2 separate regions of the Homo sapiens genome follow, and region 2 is linked to region 1. Evidence: promoter capture Hi-C in human tissues and cell types (Jung and others, 2019). All regions are on one chromosome and are shown on one strand. Each heading gives the region's core, a stretch centred on a gene start or on the middle of the fragment in contact. The rest is flanking DNA. Distances are from core to core; before and after follow the strand shown.

Region 1 (2,930 bases), core at 122-2,621:
CTCCCAAGTAGCTGGGATTACAGGTGCCCACCACCATGCCCAGCTAATTTTTCGTATTTTTAGTAGGGACTGGGTTTCACCATGTTGGCCAGGCTGGTCTCGAACTCCTGACCTCAGGTGATCCACCTGCCTCGGCCTCCCAACGTGTTGGGATTATAGGCGTGAGCCACTGCGCCCAGCCAACTCAAGTTTTAGAACTCTATATGCTGGATATTTTCAGTCGTTTACTTTACCAGATGTATTTCCCCTATTAATCGTTTTTTTCCTATCCACTTTTCTATTTCTTCAAACCATATCAGTTTCAGTCTCATATCTTTGTAGTAATCATTGGTTACTCTCTCTTCTGTCACTTCTGATCAGTTATCAAGTCTTTCGTCTTTTACTTTAAATATACTTCATTTCCACTCAATGGTCAATCATCCCATTTTAATCCACTATCGCAGAGTGCTGGAATTATTTCAATAGCTCCTCTCTGCCTGACCACTTCCTCTCCCTCCTTAGGTGATAATCTTTTTTTCTTGTTTGAGACGGAGTCTCGCTCTGTCGCCCAGGCTGGAGTGCAGTGGCGCGATCTCGGTTCACTGCAAGCTCCGCCTCCCGGGTTCACGCCATTCTCCTGCCTCAGCCTCCCGAGTAGCTGGGACTACAAGCGCCCGCCACCATGCCCAGCTAATTTTTTTGTATTTTTAGTAGAGACAGGGTTTCACCGTGTTAGCCAGGATGGTCTCCATCTCCTGACCTTGTGATCCACCCGCCTCGGCCTCCCAAAGTGCTGGGATTACAGGCGTGAGCCACCGCGCCCGGCCGGTGATAATCTTTTAAACAGAGGACTGTGATGAAACATGGTGCTAGGTGAGCAAGATAACTTAGGATATCTTTCTTTTGTGTTAGATGAAGTGAAGAAGGGAGGGTGTTGACCCTCCTGGATGAAGTGATGAAGCCCTGAACTGTGGCAATGATGCCGGAGAAGGATGTAAAAATCGTAAAGTCGACTGGTGACCAATTAGAGCTGGAAGGACTTACCCACGCTAACACCTCCCAAATATGGGAGTATTTTACTACCATAAATGAAATACATCAAGTGAATTTTTGCTAAGCGAGCAATACCCGCGCTTCGGTAAGAACTGTCACGCTTAGAGCGGGCCAACCAGCTTCCACCATCCAGATGGCGGATCCTAGATTGGCAGCCTGCGTCTCTCTAGCTACCGTCTCTATGGTTCGGGGAATCTCCAGGTCGGGGCTTGACCGGTCCGACTTTTGCGCGTGCGCGAGTCCTGGCGCGTGCCCGCCCTCAAGCAACTGTCCGACCCAGCGGGTGGGAGGGGTGGGTCTGGGAACGTTGCGGCGGCTGTCGCCGCGGCCCCAGCACCCAGAGCTGTTCTCTGGCCAAGCCTGCGCCTGTAGTCCTTCTTTGCCTCCTGGGGCGGCCGCCACCCACCCCCAGATGGTGGGTCCGGAGGATGCCGGAGCCTGCTCGGGAAGAAACCCCAAGTTGCTCCCGGTGCCTGCGCCGGACCCCGTGGGCCAGGACAGGAAGGTAATCCGGGCCACGGGCGGCTTTGGCGGAGGCGTCGGCGCTGTGGAGCCGCCGGAGGAGGCTGACGAGGAGGAGGAGGCTGACGAGGAGGAGGAGACGCCGCCTCGGCAGCTCCTTCAGCGTTACCTCGCGGCGGCCGGGGAGCAGCTGGAGCCGGGGCTCTGCTACTGTCCGCTCCCCGCTGGCCAGGCCGGCGCCCCGCCGCCCTCGGCAGCCCCACGATCGGACGCCTGCCTGCTGGGCTCGGGCTCCAAACACCGCGGCGCGGAGGTGGCTGATGGCCGCGCGCCGCGGCACGAAGGCATGACCAACGGCGACTCGGGTTTTCTGCCGGGCCGGGACTGTCGCGATCTGGAAGAGGCTCGCGGGCTGGCGCGCGCCGGCGGCCGGGAGTCGCGCCGCCGCCGCCCCTACGGCCGCCTTCGCCTGGAGGGGCCTGGCGACGAGGACGCGGACGGCGCGGGAAGCCCGTCCGATTGGGCCTCTCCGCTTGAGGACCCGCTGCGGAGCTGCTGCCTGGTGGCCGCGGACGCCCAGGAGCCCGAGGGCGCGGGCAGCGACTCGGGGGACAGCCCCGCCAGCAGCTGCAGCAGTAGCGAGGACTCAGAGCAGCGGGGAGTCGGCGCCGGGGGTCCCGAGGAGGGCGCGCCCCCTGCCACCTCGGCCGAGAGGACTAATGGGGGTGCGGAGCCGCGCCTGGGCTTTTCTGACATTCACTTCAACTCTCGCAACACGTTCCAGGTGAGCCGCGGTCAGAGCGCCCGCGATCACCTGCCCCCGGCGGGGCCGCCGGTGCCCTTGCCCGCCGCGGAGCAGGGTCCTGCGGGGGCTTCGGCCCGGGCTCGACGGAGTGGCGGCTTCGCGGACTTCTTCACCAGGTACAGCGCAGGCTGCATGGGACTCGGGGCGGGTCCGGGGCCGGGGCCGGAGCCGGGGTCTTGGTGGGAGTCGGAGCCGGAGCCGGAGCCGGAGCGGAGAGCTTGGTCGGCCGCTTCCGTGCCAGCCCCACACGCGTCAGGACTTAGCTTTGATTTGTCACTGGAGGAAGAGGAACTGGGTCGGCTTTGTGTTTCTATAGGAGAAGTTGTGAGCTCTGTGGACAGCGAGTCTTTCTGTTGCCTTGTCCGCGGGAGGCTGTACCTGCCATTCATACCTGGCTTCTGAGCAGTCAGGTTGGGCCAGCTGTCTAGTGCCACATATGCAGTTGCCTTTTCTGGAAAAGCAGATAACCATCTCCGTCTCCAATTTTTAAAAATTTTACTACAAACATTTAGGTTGTTGGGGGGGTGGTGAGGGGAGGCGGTATGTGTGTACGGGTGTGGTTGTGAAAGAGAGAAGGAAGTCATTTTGTAGAGCTGTTTATTTGCTGTGCTTGCATAGCGTCTAAATCCAT
Region 2 (2,930 bases), core at 300-2,799, 430 kb before region 1:
TTAGCCGGGCGTGGTTGTATGTGCTTGTAGTCCCAGCTACTCAGGAGGCTGAGGCAGGAGAATCACTTGAACCCGGAGGCAGAGGTTGCCATGAGCCGAGATCGTGCCACTGCACTCTAGCCTGGGCAACAGAATGAGACTCCATTTCAAAATTAAAAAAAAAAAAAAAAAACTACCCCAAAACTTAGAGGTTTAAATCAATAATTTATTGTTACTATATCTCATAACTTAACGGGTCAAGAATGCAGTAAGAGCACAGCAGGAAAGCCTTGACCCTGTTCTACAATTTCTGAAGTCGCAGCTGGGATTCTCTGAGTGCTGGAATGCTAAAGAGCTGGGTGCTGTTAGGTATCTCTCTCTTTCTGTCTCTATATCATCATCCCTCAGTATCCACAGGGGATTTGTTCCAGGACCCCCATGGATATCAAATTCTGAGGATACTCAAGTCACTGATTATATAAAATGGCATAGTATACCAGCCTGGCCAACATGGTGAAACCCCTTCTCTTACAAAAATACAAAAATTAGCTGGGTGTGGTGGTGCATGCCTGTAATCCCAGCTGCTCGGGAGGCTGAAGCTGAAGAATCGCTTTAACCCGGGAGGCGGAGGTTGCAGTGAGCCGAGATCGTGCCATTGCACTCCAGCCTGGGCAACAGAGTGAGACTCCATCTCAAATAAACAAAAAAAATGGCAAAGTGATCCTGCTTTTAAGAGTGATACTTCTCCTTCTCCTTCTCCTTCTCCTTCTCCTTCTCCCTCTCCCTCTCCCTCTCCCTCTCCCTCTCCGTCTCCCTCTCCCTCTCCCTCTCCCCACGGTCTCCCTCTCCCTCTCTTTCCACGGTCTCCCTCTGATGCCGAGCCGAAGCTGGACTGTACTGCCGCCATCTCGGCTCACTGCAACCTCCCTGCCTGATTCTCCTGCCTCAGCCTGCCGAGTGCCTGCGATTGCAGGCGCGCGCCGCCACGCCTGACCGGTTTTCGTATTTTTTTGGTGGAGACGGGGTTTCGCTGTGTTGGCCGGGCTGGTCTCCAGCTCCTAACTGCGAGTGATCCGCCAGCCTCGGCCTCCCGAGGTGCCGGGATTGCAGACGGAGTCTGGTTCACTCAGCGCTCATTGGTGCCCAGGCTGGAGTGCAGTGGCGTGATCTCGGCTGGCTACAACCTCCACCTCCCAGCCGCCTGCCTTGGCCCCCCAAAGTGCCGAGATTGCAGCCTCTGCCCGGCCGCCACCCCGTCTGGGAAGTGAGGAGCGTCTCTGCCTAGTCGCCCATCGCCTGGGATGTGAGGAGCCCCTCTGCCTGGCTGCCCAGTCTGGAAAATGAGGAGCGTCTCTGCCCGGCCGCCATCCCATACAGGAAGTGAGGAGCGCCTCTTCCCGACCGCCATCCCATCTAGGAAGTGAGGAGCGTCTCTGCCCGGGCCGCCCATCGTCTGAGATGTGGGGAGCACCTCTGCCCCGCCACCCCGTCTGGGATGTGAGGAGCGCCTCCACCCGGCCACGACCCCATCTGGGAGGTGAGGAGCGTCTCTGCCCGGCCGCCCCGTCTGAGAAGTGAGGAGACCCTCCGCCTGGCAACCGCCCCGTCTGAGAAGTGAGGAGACCCTCCACCCGGCAGCCGCCCCGTCAGAGAAGTGAGGAGCCCCTCCGCCCGGCAGCCACCCCGTCTGGGAAGTGAGGAGCGTCTCCGCCCGGCAGCCACCCCGTCCGGGGGGGAGGTGGGGGGGTCAGCCAGCCACCCCGTCCGGGAGGGAGGTGGGGGGGTCAGCCCCCCGCCCGGCCAGCCGCCCCGTCGGGTAGGTGAGGGGCGCCTCTGCCCGGCTGCCCCTACTGGGAAGTGAGGAGCCCCTCTGCCCGGCCGCCACCCCGTCTGGGAGGTGTGCCCAGCAGCTCATTGAGAACGGGCCATGATGACAATGGCGGTTTTGTGGAATAGAAAGGGGGGAAAGGTGGGGAAAAGATTGAGAGGTTGGATGGTTGCCCTGTCTGTGTAGAAAGAGGTAGACATGGGAGACTTCTCATTTTGTTCTGTACTAAGAAAAATTATTCTGCCTTGGGATCCTGTTGATCTGTGACCTTACCCCCAACCCTGTGCTCTCTGAAACATGTGCTGTGTCCACTCAGGGTTAAATGGATTAAGGGCGGTGCAAGATGTGCTTTGTTAAACAGATGCTTGAAGGCAGCATGCTCGTTAAAAGTCATCACCACTCCCTAATCTCAAGTACCCCGGGACACAAACACTGCGGAAGGCCGCAGGGTCCTCTGCCTAGGAAAACCAGAGACCTTTGTTCACTTGTTTATCTGCTGACCTTCCCTCCACTATTGTCCTATGACCCTGCCAAATCCCCCTCTGCGAGAAACACCCAAGAATGATCAATAATAAAAAAAAAAAAAAAAAAAAAGAAACTATCCAATCCTCAGCCTGCTCAGCTGCTTACTCTGTTTCACCCATGCCTTCTGTGAAAACAACAGTAAAGGTTTTGCCCAGGCTTTTTCCTCATTCTGCTGCTTCCTGATTGACCTCGTTCTTCCCTGTGTGGCCCCTCATGGTGTGACATGCCCCTTTCTCTTGGAAACTGTAATAAACTTTTCTTTTAAAAGAAAAAAAAAAAATGGCAAAGTATTTGCATGTAACCTATATGCATCCTTCCTTATACTTTAAATCCTCTCTATATTACTAATAATACCTAATACTATGTAAATAATTGTTACACTGTTTTTTTTTTAATTTGTATTTTTCCTTTTTCCTCAAATATTTTCAATCCAAGGTTGGTTGAATCCACAGACAGGGAATAGCTTCTCCACACAACTATCTTAAGCTTCCTCCCAGCATGGGAACTTCACCCTCATTGCTTCTTACATGATATTTCAGGGCTCCAAGAGCAAGTGTTCAAAGAGACAAGAAGTAGAAGCTCTCTTTTTCTTAAGCCT

The links. Contacts are between HindIII fragments. The study calls those that stand out against the background at their distance.
Region 2: a contact is called between a fragment that was not itself captured here and the fragment with the promoter of TBC1D12 in region 1, in 1 of the 25 tissues and cell types used here (mesendoderm cells).

What each region holds. Positions count from the first base shown.
Region 1 is chr10:94,401,170-94,404,099 of GRCh38, forward strand. It overlaps TBC1D12 (TBC1 domain family member 12), which reads left to right and starts at 1,372. Exons shown (of 13, transcript NM_015188.2): 1 at 1,372-2,415. The coding sequence starts at 1,445. RefSeq lists enhancers at 1,120-1,279, 2,580-2,879 and silencers at 1,610-2,099, 2,170-2,499. The HindIII fragment of the contact is 13,183 bases long and covers 1-2,930 here.
Region 2 is chr10:93,969,231-93,972,160 of GRCh38, forward strand. No RefSeq gene overlaps it. Among named protein-coding and RNA genes, the nearest start is that of PLCE1, 23 kb to the right of the region's middle. The HindIII fragment of the contact is 6,988 bases long and covers 1-2,930 here.